Regions from separate parts of the Homo sapiens genome. Here all the other regions are linked to region 1. Evidence: promoter capture Hi-C in human tissues and cell types (Jung and others, 2019). All regions are on one chromosome and are shown on one strand. Each heading gives the region's core, a stretch centred on a gene start or on the middle of the fragment in contact. The rest is flanking DNA. Distances are from core to core; before and after follow the strand shown. Region 1 holds the start of VPS18 (VPS18 core subunit of CORVET and HOPS complexes). Region 2 overlaps RTF1 (RTF1 homolog, Paf1/RNA polymerase II complex component). Region 3 overlaps MGA (MAX dimerization protein MGA).

The links. Contacts are between HindIII fragments. The study calls those that stand out against the background at their distance.
Region 2: a fragment that was not itself captured here is called in contact with the fragment with the promoter of VPS18 in region 1 in 1 of the 25 tissues and cell types used here (pancreas).
Region 3: a fragment that was not itself captured here is called in contact with the fragment with the promoter of VPS18 in region 1 in 1 of the 25 tissues and cell types used here (spleen).

The regions. Positions count from the first base shown.
Region 1 is chr15:40,892,544-40,897,266 of GRCh38, forward strand. VPS18 (VPS18 core subunit of CORVET and HOPS complexes) reads left to right here and starts at 1,907. Exons shown (of 5, transcript NM_020857.3): 1 at 1,907-2,316; 2 at 3,395-3,536. The coding sequence starts at 2,226. RefSeq lists a silencer at 1,623-1,792 and an enhancer at 2,633-2,722. The HindIII fragment of the contact is 19,251 bases long and covers 1-4,723 here.
Region 2 is chr15:41,421,814-41,426,587 of GRCh38, forward strand. The region is part of intron 1 of RTF1 (RTF1 homolog, Paf1/RNA polymerase II complex component); the gene reads left to right. Among named protein-coding and RNA genes, the nearest start is that of RTF1, 7.1 kb to the left of the region's middle. The HindIII fragment of the contact is 8,350 bases long and covers 1-4,774 here.
Region 3 is chr15:41,665,874-41,670,725 of GRCh38, forward strand. MGA (MAX dimerization protein MGA) reads left to right here. Exons shown (of 24, transcript NM_001400225.1): 2 at 2,955-4,085. The coding sequence starts at 3,022. Among named protein-coding and RNA genes, the nearest start is that of MGA, 7.9 kb to the left of the region's middle. The HindIII fragment of the contact is 4,748 bases long and covers 1-3,706 here.

The DNA of each region.
Region 1 (4,723 bases), core at 657-3,156:
TTTGATGCCCTAGCAGTCATCCCTTACCTGTCTCATTGCAACTGCCACACTTGATTCTGTGGCTCTCAAAGAATCCAAAGTCCAGCCTAAGAACTGAAGAATGAGTAGGTGGAAATGCACTGTGGTAATCAACGCATAAGGGAGACTGTACTGAGTCTGCCACAAACAGGGTCCACCCAGGCCTATCCCATACATCCCGGAGAGCCATGGAGCCCAACAATGGGGTGCTGGGGTCCCTGAGGCTGTAGCTGGAAGTACTCTGTGTCCCTAAGGCAGCACTCCTATGCTGACCTCCAACTGCTAATGGGCTCTGTGCAGCAGGGACAACCCTCTGCACAGTCCAGACCTGAGGGCAGATGGCAGGTGACCTGGGGGTGAAGTGTTATGTATGGAGCAGGGCAGCTCCCTGTCTGGGATCACTTTTCTTAGAGGAAGCCTCCTGCCTATTGTCCTGCTCCTGCACTTCCCTCCTGGGACCTGGCAACCTCAGGTGGGAAGGCTGCATTGAGGCTGCAGGCTTGGTCAAGAGAAGCAGGACCCTGGTGCGAAGGGAAATGAGCCTGGACAGCATACTTGTCACCTGCCCCAGGACTAGTGCCCCTCCAAGCCAGAGAGCCCAGATAGCCCTCAGTGGGGCTGGTGAGAGTCACAGTTCTCCGCACGTGGCCAGGAAGTTGAGCAAGAGTAACCCAACCACATAAGGTATGGTGCAAACCTGGAAACTTCTGAGAGCAAAGGGATGCTCTTAGTTGTTAGGCGGGGGCCGCCCAGCAGAGCCAGGACGGTGGCGACCCTAGTCCAGAGCCTTCCACTTTAGCAAGGTAGAATCCAAGGGCCCCAGAAGGGAACAGACTCCATCTGGGTCGCCTAAGCAGGTGAGAGAGGAAAACCCAACCACAGTCGCGCCCCAGCCCTCGCAGGTCCCTGGCTGAGGACTCCCCTCTCCACCTCAGGCTGGGCGGCCCCCGCCTTCACGCTTGCTCCCACTTGTCCCTCGTTCTTGCTAGGCTTGGCAGGTATTTGTTCCCTGCTCCTTCACGCTCTCAGTGCCGTGGCCACGTCGCTGGGTACGCCCCACCAGGCAAGAGACATTTTCCGTCTTGTTCTCTGCCACGTCCCCAGAGCCTGGAACAGTGCTTGGCACAGAGTGGACGCTCATTCGTGGAGTAAGTGCCTGATGGATAATCCATCACTTGCTTTTCTAGTATGAATGGTCTATTTACGGGTCCAGCGCCCCTGCTGGCTTACGACCTTTTCCAGGGCGGGGAGGGGCTGTCCTCATCTCTGTGACCCCAGCGCCCAGCCCAAGGCCTGGCACAGAGTAAGTGCTCAACCACATTTTGGTGAATGAGTGAATGGAAGCGGCCCAGCAACCCTGAGCCAAGGAGCCACTGTGGGGCAGGTCAGGGCGGTTCCTGGCACAGGGCTTCCCACTAGCCTGGCCACCAGCTCTGCGGTCTCCTGGAAGCTGGGGGGCCTTTGGGTAAGGGAGAAGAGTGGCCAGGAGTTGTCTGCGTGTGCCCTGTGACGGTGGGATAGAGACAGCGATTGGATTGAGGAACGGGAGGTTCCCCGAGGCTGTTTAGAGAGGCGGGAGCGGGAGCTGGTCAGGGAGGCTGGACAGACCACCCGAGGGAGCGGAGCTTGGGCACGAAAGCCAAAACTGGGCGGCGCGGGGCGGGTGGGGAAGGCCGGCTGAGAAAGCCGGGATTGCCTCCTGGTGTCAAAGCTCGGAACTGCAGCAGGATCCTGGGGGCGGGGCTTGTGTTCAGCAGCACTCGCCACGCGCCCAGCCCTCAGCCCTCGTCTCGCCTTCTGCTGGCTGGCCCGGCGACGTTGTGCGCCAGCGTACGCGGGGCTCTGAGAACCCGGAAGTTACGTTTTAGGCCCGCGTCACGGGGGCGGGAGTCAGCTGAGCTGCCGGGGCGAGGTTGGGATCACCTGGCACCGGCTGAAGGGAGCCTGTGATTTTTTTGTAGCGGGGGCGGGGAGTAAGGTGCAAGACTGCGCCAGATTCAAGGACGAGGGCTGCCCGATTATCTCGCTGCATAAGGCAAGAGCAAGAGGATCCTCAGGATTTTAAAGAGGAGGCGACGGCTGCAGGTTCCCAGGATCTGTCAGAGGCTGGGGAGTTACAGCTTCCATTCTGGGGCGACGGGGACCCCGGGGGGGTAGCCCTTTTGTAATCCCCAGGCCCCGGACAAAGAGCCCAGAGGCCGGGCACCATGGCGTCCATCCTGGATGAGTACGAGAACTCGCTGTCCCGCTCGGCCGTCTTGCAGCCCGGCTGCCCTAGCGTGGGCATCCCCCACTCGGGTAAGGAAGAGGAGGGTGCCGCTGCCCCTTTCGGCTCTCCTAGCATTTGCGTGGGAGCAGCGAGGAGGGCAGCTCCAAGAGCTCGGGGTCATCCCCTGGGCCGTGCCTTCCGGGTCTAGGCCCCTGATTCTCCTCAGGCTCTCTTGGCCCCCAGCTGGTGGATAGTCGAAGTTTGAAAGAGCAACGGGAGCTGCCGCGTGATCTAGGCTCTACCGCTAGGGTCCTTTTGAGAGGGAATTGGGGCCCAGATAAGGAATTACTCACCTACAGGGCGCAGTTGGGCTGTTGGGAGAACTTAGAATGGGCTCCCGGCTTCTGCTGATGCTTTTCCCACCAGGCCCCTTCTGGAGGTGGGAGGGAAGGAATGGACAAAGAAAGTGGTGAAGGCGGAGTATTGCAGAGGAAGAAGGGAGGGTCCCAGAGGGAATTTTGTCGCTGAACGGGGAAAATGGAGATGAAATCTTTTTGGCCTTGGCTATAGCTGGGTGCAGCCTGGAGTTTGGGGACGTTTTTGTAGAAAGTAGTGAGTCTCCAGGAGAATGAGGGCATAGGGAGCCCTGGGGAACTGTTCCAGTGAGTGGAGTTAACGAATTGGAGCTGCTTTCACTCTAGTCTTTACCTTCATTCAATGCTCAAAATATCCCAGCACTTGCCAACTCTACACTGAGGCTCATTACCGCATGGGCAGGGAGGGGGGCAGAGAATGGGGCTATACTACTTCAGTTAAGCTGGGATTGCTGGGCCAAAGACCTGATAAGGGAGAATACCCAGACCACCAGTCCCGTCCCACCTCCACGCAGCCCCATTACCAGTGGGAGCAGGTATATCATGCTGTGACAGCATCTTAAGGGTTCAAAGAATCAACCCCTCACTGCTGTCAGAGTGTGGAAAGAGCTCCAGACCTCTATTGTAAAGGTGACCAGCAAACGACTTGATATCAAACTATTTGTTAACCAAGGTCCTGGGGATAGGAATATGTCAGGAAAGTGGCGAGGAGCACTGTGGTGTTTTTTCTGCCTCTCCTTGCCCTTCACCTGTCTCTTCCACAGCTAATCTTCTTGTCATTCCTTACCTGTAGGGTATGTGAATGCCCAGCTGGAGAAGGAAGTGCCCATCTTCACAAAGCAGCGCATTGACTTCACCCCTTCCGAGCGCATTACCAGTCTTGTCGTCTCCAGCAATCAGCTGTGCATGAGCCTGGGCAAGGATACACTGCTCCGGTAATCAAGAGCTCACAGAGCTTAGGAGTAGGGACTAGAGAGGTGTTTGGGGACTGTTAACTCACTGGGCCTTTCTTCTATTCCAGGCAAGTAAAGCAGTGAATTTGGAGTTTTCAGGAAATATCCTATCCCTTTCCAAAGAGAACCAATACAGGGTAGTGGTTAAGTATCTGGCCTGGCAGGGCATGGTGGCTCACACCTATCATCTCAGCACTTCGGGAGGCCAAGACAAGAGGATCACATGAAATCAGCAGTTTGAGACCAGCCTGGGCAATATAGTGAGACCCCCGTCTCTACCAAAACAAATTTTTAAAAATTAGCTAGGTGTGATGGTGCAGTCCCAACTACTGGGGAGGCCGAGGCAAGAGGATCACTTGAGCCCAGGAGTTCAAGGCTGCAGTGAGCTGTGTTTGCACCACTGTACTCCTGTCTCTTTAAAAAAAAAAAAAAGTCAGGTGCAGTGGCTCACACCTGTTATCCCAGCACTTTGGGAGGCTGAGGAGGGTGGATCACCTGAGGTCAGGAGTTCGACACCAGCCTGGCCAACATGGTGAAACGCTGTTTCTACTAAAAATACAAAAGTTAGCCGGGCGTGGTGGCAGGCGCCTGTAATCTCAGCTACTGGGGAGGCTGAGGCAGGAGAATTGCTGGAACCTGGGAGCCGGAAGTTGCAGTGAGCTGAGATTGCACCATTGAACTCCAGCCCAGGCGACAACAGTGAGACTCCATCTCAAAAAAAAAAAAAGGAAAAGGAAAAAAAAAAAAACTGTTTAGGAGTGTAGACTTAAGAGTATTAGAGTATTGATTAGAGCATTCTTGTGGTGGGAAAAACTGGATCCATGCTGAATGCTCATCAATAGGAAAATGGTGATTAAACTGCAATTCAGCCACAAAATAGAATATAATGCAGTTGTTTAAAAAAATGAATTATCCTGGCTGGGCGAGGTGGCTCACGCCTGTAATCCCAGCACTTTGGGAGGCTGAGGCAGGCAGATCACCTGAGGTCGGGAGTTCAAGACCAGCCTGGCCAACATGGAGAAACCCCTTCTCTACTAAAAATATAAAATTAGCAGGGTGTGGTGGCAGGTGCCTGTAATCCCAGCTATTTGGGAGGCTGAGGCAGGAGAATGGCTTGAACCCGGGAGGCAGAGGTTGCAGTGAGCCGAGATCATGCTCACTGCACTCCA
Region 2 (4,774 bases), core at 2,172-4,671, 530 kb after region 1:
GATCCTTCCCCCTCAGCCTCTCAAGTAGCTGGGACTACAGGTGTGCACCACCACACCCAGCTAATTTTTAAAATCATTTGTAGAGATGGGGGTCCCACTACATTGCCTAGGCTAGTCTGAAACTCCTGGGCTTGGGTGATTCTCAGGCTTTGGCCTCCCAAAGTGCTGGAATTACAGGTGTGAGCTGCCACACCAGGCCTTATTTATTTATTTGTTTGTTTGTTTATTTATTTATTTTTGAGATGGAGTCTCACTCTATCGCCCAGACTGGAGTACAATAGCACGATCTCGACTCACTGCACCTTCCACCTCCTGGGTTCAAGCAATTCTCCTGCCTCAGCCTCCTGGGTAGCTGAGATTACAGGCGCCTGCCACCACACCTGGCTAATTTTTTGTATTTTCAGTAGAGACGCTATGTTGGCCAGACTGGTCTCTAACTCCTGGCCTCAGGTGATCCAGCACCTGGCCTTATTTTAACCTTTGAAAGTTTTTAAAACTAAGACCTAGTTTGAGAGTTTGAAAGCTTTTCTTTTAGCATTTGACCTGATAGTGACTCTGTCCTTATTTTGACCACACCCTTTCTTCAACATTTTTAAATTTCAAGATACTTGCTGTTGGTGCCTATTGGGAAATAATAATTTGAGGCAAACCTCTGGGCTCTATGTCATCTCCCTTTATGGAATAATATTTATGCAGTAAGTCCTATAAAATGAAAAGCATTCAAGATAATAAAGGAACCAGAGTTCTCAATTCAAATCAGTACAACTCCGTATTTATAAAAATTTTACTCTACCTTTCTAAAAAACTAAAAATTGAGCTATGTGCACACTGGGATGCTTTATTTTATAGGTTTCTTATTTAAAATGGAGATTATATTGTCATGTCCTGTTTTTCTCTGTTTATCTAACTTGAAGTAGCAATAATTAAATTTGTCTTTGAGAGAATAGGCCCCCCTAAGTATTTTCTTTTTTCTTTTTTTTGAGACGGAGTCTCGCTCTGTCACCCAGGCTGGAGTGCAGTGGCGCGATCTTGGCTCCTGCAGCCTCCGCCTCCCGGGTTCAAACAATTCTCTGCCTCAGCCTTCCGAGTAGCTTGGATTACAGGCGCACGCCACCACGTCCAGCTAATTTTTGTATTTTTAGTAGAGACGGGGTTTCACCATCTTGGCCAGGCTGGTCTTGAACTCCTGACCTCGTGATCCACCCTCCTCGGCCTCCCAAAGTGTTGGGATTACAGGCGTGAACCACCGTGCCCGGCCAGCCCTGTAAGTATTTTCTAGGAGCTGTTTTTAGATACTACATGTAAAGAATATTATTATTATAAAGTATACTTCTATAAACCTTCCCCATAAATCTTGAGAAATTTAAAAGTTGTGCTTCTTGTTAATGTAGTGTTTTCCGCATTAATCAGAGGCAAATTTTGAAGTGTAGGAAGAGTTTGTGAGAAGTGTCAGTGTTAATTTGTGAAAACTTTAATTTGTGTCATGTTGCATCTAGCTTGATGTAATTCGCTTGTTAATTTCACTCTTTTCAAAGAGTGAGTCCCATGGGAGCTCCCTCCCCACCCAGCCCCCACCCAAGATGGAGTCTTGCTCTGTCACCCAGGCTGGAGAGCAATGGCACGCTGGGCTCACTGTAGCCTCCGCCTCTAGGTTCAAGTGATTCTCCTGCCTTAGCCTCCCGAGTAGCTGGGATGACAGGCACGCGCCACCACTCCCGGCTAATTTTACATTTTTATTAGAGATGGGGTTTCTCCATGTTGGTCAGTCTGGTCTCAAACTCCCGACCTCAGATGATCCACCCACCTCGGCCTCCCAAAGTGCTGGGATTACAGGGGTGAGCCACCACGCCCAGCCCTGGGAGCTTTAACAGTGAGGCTTTTAGGAAAAATACAAAACTGATCTTCAGACACAGGTCATATTGGTGTATTTATTTTTATTTATTTATTTATTTATTTTGAGATGGAGTCTCACTTTGTTGCCCAGGCTGGAGTGCAGTGGGACGATCTCAGCTCACTGCCACCTCCGCTTCCCGGGTTCAAGCAATTATCCTGCCTCAGCCTCCCAAGTAGCTGGGATTACAGGTATGCACCACCATGCCCGACTAATTTTTGTATTTTTAGTAGAGATGGGGTTTCACCATGTTGGCCAGGCTGGTCTCAAACTCCTGACCTCAAGTGATCCGCCCTCCTTGGCTTCCCCAGGGTGCTGGGATTTCAGGCATGAGCCACCGCATCCGGCCTGATTGTTCATCGTTCAACAGATGTATTAGACAGCGTTAGACACTAGAGCTATTGGGTGAACAAAATGGAAGCAGTTTCCACCTTCAAGGAGTGTAAAGTGGAATGAGAGAGAGATGAGGTGGGGAGATTGCTCAGAGAGAGTAATTTCCTTACAATTGCACTACAGGCCATGAAGCAAGGACAAGAATACTGTGGAAATATTAACCAGGGACCCTATTCTAGCCTGATGAGAGTGACATTGAAACAGACCTGGAATATGTGTTAAGGAGAAGCAGATTAGAAGACTGAAGAGTAAAGGGAAGAGTGTTGAATGTTCATGGTTGAGGCACCAGCATATATAAAAGAAATGAGACAGGAAGGACCTCGAACCCTTATGAAACTGAAAGAAGCACAGAGTGAGTAACATAAACTAGTTGCATAGTTGGAGAGAGAATAGTACAAATGAAACTGTAGAGGTAGATTCTGTTTTGACCCTTTGAGGATGGAGAAGTCAGTTTACGGACTACACTCAGCAGTAAAAATAAAATTGAATTGATAGAAAACATCAAATGTGTCATACATAGTAAATATAAGTGATGAAATTTGTGTGTCTCATATGTACATGTAGATGTATACTGGGTTGTGAGGTATAATTTATCTTCCTGTGGGCTGCGTTAAAAAGAGAAAAGTTTTTTGGCCAGGCGCAGTGGCTCACGCCTTTAATCCCAGCACTTTGGGAGGCCGAGGTGGGTGGATCATATGAGGCCAGGAGTTCGACCAGGCGGGCCAACATGGCGAAACCCCATCTCTAGTAAAAATACAAAAATTAGCCAAGTGCGGTGGCACACACCTGTAGTCCCAGCCACTGGTGAGGCTGAGGCATGAGAATCCCTTGAACCTAGGAGGCGGAGGTTGCAGTGAGCCGAGATCACCACTGTATTAGCCTGGGTGACAGAGAGACTCCGTCTAAAAAAAACAAAAGAAAAAAAGAAAAAAATTTAAAGCCACTGGAGGGCGTCAGCCTCCCCGGTGGCTGGGACTGCAAGTGTGTGCCACCACACTTGGCTAATTTTTGTTTTTTATTTTTGAGACGGAGTCTCGCTCTTTTGCCCAGGCCGGACTGCAGTGGCGCTGTCTCTGCCACTGCAAGCTTCGCCTCCCGGGTTCATACCATTCTCCTGCCTCAGCCTCCCGAGTAGCTGGGACTATAGGCGCCTGCCACTGTGTCCGGCTAATTTTTTTTTTGTATTTTTAGTAGGCACGGGTTTCACCATGTTAGCCAGGATGGTCTTGATCTCCTGACCTCATGATCTGCCCGCCTCGGCCTCCCAAAGTGTGCTGGGATTACAGGTGTGAGCCACCGCGCCTGGCCAATTTTTGTATTTTTAGTAGAGACTTTGGAGTTTATTCTGAGAGTAATAGGAAGCCATTGAAGGATTTTAAGTTGGAGAAGATTTTCAGATTTGCCTTACCCAGACTATTGTGGAGAGTAATATGGAGGGGGACACTAATGAAGTGGCAGAGAGAGGAGTCCAGATGAGAGATGATGGAGAACATAAGTTCCATTAGAATGGAAGCGCCAGGAGGGTAACCGTATGTGTTCACTATGCTGTCCCTGGCATCTAGAGCAGTGCCTATATGCAGTTGGCACCCAGTCAGTATTTATTAAATGAAGGACTGACTTGGATTGATATGGTTGTTATAGAGATGACAGATAGTGGAATTGGTTGGACATGATGTTCAGTATGTAGAACTAAAAGGCCTTGAAGACTGAGGACTGATTAGATGTTAGGATGAGAAGAGGAGTATTTAGGATTGATGCCAGGCACTGGCATGAGATGGGGAGTGCTGGAGGAGCAGGTTTAGAGGTGAAGATCCTGCATTCAGTCTGGGATATGTGGAGTTCGAAGTGACTATGAGATGTCTAAGTGGAGACATCAAGTAGGTAGTTGAAAATAACACTTGAGGGCCAGGCACAATGGCTCATGCCTGTAATCCCAGCACTTTGGGAGGCTGAGGTGGGAGGATTGCTTGAGCTCAGGAGTTTGAGATCAGCCTAGGCAACATGATGATGAAACCTGATCTCTACAAAAAAAAAAAATTTTTTTTGGAGGTGGAGTCTCGCTCTGTTGCCTAGGCTGGAGTGCAGTGACACCATCTTGGCTCACTGCAACCTCCGCCCTGGGTTCAAGCGATTCTCGTGCCTCAGCCTCCTGAGTAGCTGGGATTACAGGCACATGCCACCATGCCCAGCTAATTTTTTTGATTGTTTGTTTTTATTTTTTTTTTTGGGATAGAGTCTCGCTCTGTCGCCCAGGGTGGAGTGCAGTGGCACGATCTCTGCTCACTGCAACCTCCCCCTCCTGGATTCAAGCGATTCTTCTGCCTCAGCCTCCCGAGTAGCTGGGACTACAGGCGTGCGCCACCATGCCTGACTAATTTTTTGTATTTTTAGTAGAGACAGGGTTTCACCATATTGGCCAGGCTGATCTCGAACTCCAGACGTCATGATCTGCCCACCTCGGCTTCCCGAACTGCTAGGATTACAAGCGTG
Region 3 (4,852 bases), core at 83-2,582, 770 kb after region 1:
CTTTTTCTTTATAACCTTTAATAATTAACTAATTTTAACTTTATTTTTTATTTTTTTAAAGAGACGGGGTCTCACTCTGTCTCCTAGGCTGGAGTGCAGTGATATGGTTATGGCTCACTGCAACCTGAACTTCCAGGGCTGCTGAAGGTGTCCTCCTGCCTCAGCCTCCTGGCCACCATACCTGCTATTTTTTTTTTTTTTTTGGTAGAGACTGACTGGCTATTTTGACCAGGCTGGTCTTGAACTCTTGACCTCAAACGTTACTCCCACATGGGCCTCCTAAAGTGATGGAATTACCGGTGTGAGCCACTGCACCTGCCCACCTGGCCTGTGTTTTAGTTTTTAAAGGTTGTGTGTTCACAAGACACAAAATTTACAAAGTGTAAAAGGGTATCTTTTCCAAGTCATCAAGTTTTCCTTGGATATGACCAATACTACTGTTTTCTTTTCTGTCTTTCCAGAGATAGTCTGTGTAAAGCAAATATGTACATGTTCTTTTTCATTCTTTGGCTTTTTATTTATTTTAAAGACCGAAATACTGTCTATTTCTTTGATTTTAAAAAGGAAAAATCTTTTACAAGGGTTGAAAAACTACCTATCAGGTACTATGTTCACTGCTTGGATGATGGGATCATTAGAAGCCCAAACCTTATATTATGCAGTAGACTCATGTAAACAAACCTGCACGTGTTCTCCCTGTCTGAAGTTTAAGAGGTACAATAAAAAACTTTTAAAAGATGTGTGGCATAATTTACAACTCTTCTGAACATTTTACGCTTAATATATCTTGTAGATACTTTTTGCATGCATTCATTAAGCTTATACATTCTCTTTTGTGACTGTTAACATTCCACTCTATGGATGTGTCATCATTTGTTTTACCATTTTAAGGACTTCTCTCTTCCTGTCTAGTCTTTTGCTGTTATAAGTGGGAATGCAGGGGATAATCTTGTATAGATATCATTTATCACAGGTGTGTGTATTTAAAATAAAGTCCTATAGTGGGTTTTAACAGTGAATTAAGAAAACTTAAAGTCCTGGGAACAATTCTTTGTCATAGGATGATATATGGATTTGTACTTTTGATATTTTCAAGTTGCCCTCTCTTAGAGATTCTATTATTTTATACTCCCAGTAACTGCTTAGGGGAGAATGCTGGTTGACCTAACCCTTTCCAGCACTACCAGGCTTTGATTTTTGCCAGTCTGATAAGTAAAAAAACAGTATCTCAAGATGACTTTAATTTGCTTTCCTCTTAACTATGTACATATTCATAGCCATTTGCGTTTATTATCCTTTACTCATTTTTCTGTTAGGTATTTGGTCTTGTTGATTTGTAGGAAGCCTTTAAAAATTATTATTACTGTTAATGTATTTTTATTTTTTTTTTTGAGTCAGAGTCTCGCTCTGTCACCCAGGCTGAAGTGCAGTGGTGCCATCTTGGCTCGCTGCAACTCCACCTCCTGGGTTCAAGCAATTCTCTTGTCTTAGCCTCCCGAGTACCTGGGATTATGGGCGCACACCACCATGCCTAGCTAATTTTTTTATTTTTAGTAGAGACAGGGTTTCACCATGTTGGCCAGGCTGGTCTTGAGCTCCTGACCTCAAGTGATCTGACCTCCTTGGCCTCCCAGAGTGCTTGGATTACAGGCGTGAGCCACTGCTCCCCCGCCGCTATTATTTTTTAATAGAGACGGACTTTCACTACGTTGGACAGGCTGGTCTGGGACTCCTGACTTCAAGCAATCCTCCTGCCTTGGCCTCCCAAAGTGCTGGGATTATAGGTGTGAGTCACCATGTCCAGCCCCCTTTTTATATTAGGGAAAGGAGTTCTTTATAAGTTGCAAATACCTTTTCCTGGTTAGTTTGCTTTTTGATTTTGCTTAAATGATTTTGCCAGATTAAAAAATTTACAGAATATTAAATTTTATTTTATTTTTATTTCTTTGAGACGGAGTCTTTCCCTGTCACCCAGGCTGGAGTGCAGTGGCGTGATCTTGGCTCAGTGCACCTTCTGCCTCCTAGGATCAAGTGATTCTCATGCCTCAGCCTCCTGAGTAGCTGGGACTACAGGCGTGCACCACCACACCAGGCTAATTTTTTAATTTTTAATAGAGATGGGGTTTCGCCATGTTGGCCAGGCTAGTCTCGAATTCCTGGCTTTAAATGATCCACTGGCCTCAGCCTCTCAAAGTGCTGGGATTGCAGGTGTGAGCCACCACACCTGGCATCATATAGTATTAAATTTATCACTTTTTTTTTTTTTGGCCTTACTGGTTTTAGATTTTGTGTCTTATCAAAAAACTTTTCTCAGGATTTAGGAATAAAAAAATTAAATATTAGAGTCATCTGGAATTTATTTCAGTGTAAGGTCCATTGAGTTCCAGTGATTTGTCATGGCTTCTTTAAACGTGTGTACTAAGAAGTTAGATAGCTTTTTACTTATTTATGGAACCATGTCTTCTGAACCATATGAAGAACTAATTCTGTACAATTAGCTCTTTGGGATGAAAATGGAACTTTACTTATTTAATTTACTCATCACTGGGGAACTTGCTATATAAAGGAATCTTCTGGTAAATTCATAAAGTGTTAGGATGCTTTAAAAATGCATAACCTTCAAATTTAACTTTTTAATTTTGTATACTTTTTTAATAATGAATATACTCTTTTGTTTCTTTGTGTGAGATTATAGTATTTATAGTGAATTGTTAGAGGATTAGGATATAAGCACCTTAACTAATTAGATTAAAATGAACTTTAAAAAATGATTAGATATTCCAGAGTAAATATTCTTACTGTGATTGAAAGAAAAGCTTAGAAGCAAAGTCTTAGAAGAATTTAGGAATATTTTGGGGATAACATAATCGTTCTTGTATTTTTGTTCAAGAAATAAATACTCACTTGATTAAAGGGTGTTTTTTGTTTTTGGTTTTTTTTTGCTTGTTTCTTAGGATGGGAAGGCCATTGTGACTATGTGGTGATTACAGTTGTCTTACTACTGAGTTTCCTACTGAAATCATGGAGGAGAAACAGCAGATTATATTGGCTAATCAAGATGGTGGAACAGTGGCAGGAGCAGCACCTACCTTCTTTGTCATCTTAAAGCAGCCAGGAAATGGCAAAACTGATCAAGGAATTTTGGTTACTAATCAGGATGCCTGTGCTTTGGCTAGTAGTGTGTCATCACCAGTAAAATCTAAAGGGAAGATTTGCCTTCCAGCTGATTGTACTGTGGGTGGAATCACTGTTACCCTCGATAACAATAGTATGTGGAATGAGTTCTATCATCGAAGCACAGAGATGATTCTGACCAAGCAAGGAAGACGCATGTTTCCTTACTGTCGTTATTGGATAACAGGTTTAGATTCAAATTTGAAGTATATTCTTGTCATGGATATATCTCCTGTGGATAACCATCGTTATAAGTGGAATGGTCGTTGGTGGGAACCTAGTGGGAAGGCTGAACCTCATGTTTTGGGGAGGGTTTTCATTCATCCAGAATCTCCTTCCACAGGTCATTATTGGATGCATCAACCAGTATCTTTCTATAAACTCAAACTTACCAACAATACACTGGACCAAGAAGGGCATATCATCTTGCACTCTATGCATCGTTACCTGCCGAGGCTTCATTTGGTGCCTGCAGAAAAGGCTGTGGAGGTGATACAATTAAATGGCCCTGGTGTCCACACTTTTACCTTCCCACAGACTGAATTCTTTGCAGTAACAGCTTATCAGAACATTCAGATTACTCAGCTGAAAATAGATTACAATCCATTTGCCAAAGGCTTTCGGGATGATGGGCTGAATAATAAGCCCCAGAGAGATGGAAAACAAAAGAACAGCTCTGACCAAGAAGGGAATAATATTTCCAGTTCTTCTGGTCATCGGGTCCGTCTTACAGAAGGTCAGGGGTCAGAGATACAACCAGGTGATTTGGATCCTTTGTCAAGGGGTCATGAAACATCAGGCAAGGGTTTGGAGAAGACTTCCCTTAATATAAAACGAGACTTTCTTGGTTTCATGGATACTGATTCAGCACTTAGTGAAGTTCCTCAATTGAAGCAAGAGATTTCTGAATGGTAAGTAGTAGTTTTTCTGTTCTTAGAAATAAAAGGAAGATTGAGATGGGCCAGGTGTTGGATTTAACATCTTGGTTCTGTGGAATGCTACAGATGTTGATAAATGTAAGCCACTATAAAATATACTACAACTGCTTTTACATTCTGTGAAGTGACATCATTTTTCTGTAATGAGAATCAGTTGGGTTCAGGATCTAGAATTGTAGGCAAATTGGATAACTTATCAGAATTATTCATATGTATTTAGAATGTTCCTTGATATCCTTGGGGGATTGGTTCCAGGACCACCCAAGAATACCAACACCTGACTACATTTGAGACTCCATCTCAATAAAAAAAAGAAAATCATACCAATTATGACAACATAGATGAGCCTAGAGAATACTATGCTAAGTGAAATAGGCAAAACAAAAAAAGACAAATACTGCAAAATATTCATAAAAGTAGAAAGTAGAATGGTGGATGCCAGGGGGTAGAGAGAGACTGAAAGATGTTGGTCAAAGGGTACAAAGCTTCAGTTATGCCAGGTAAATTTTAAAGAAAGAGTAAGCATACTATTTTTTTTGAGATGGAGTCTCGCTCTGTCGCCCAGGCTGGAGTGCAGTGGCATGATCTCCGCTCACTGCAAGCTCCGCCTCCTGGGTTCACGCCATTCTCCTGCCTCAGCCTCCCAAGTAGCTGGGACTACAGGCGCCCGTCACCACGCCCGGCTAATTTTTCTATATTTTTGGTAGAGACAGGGTTTCACTGTGTTAGCCAGGATGGTC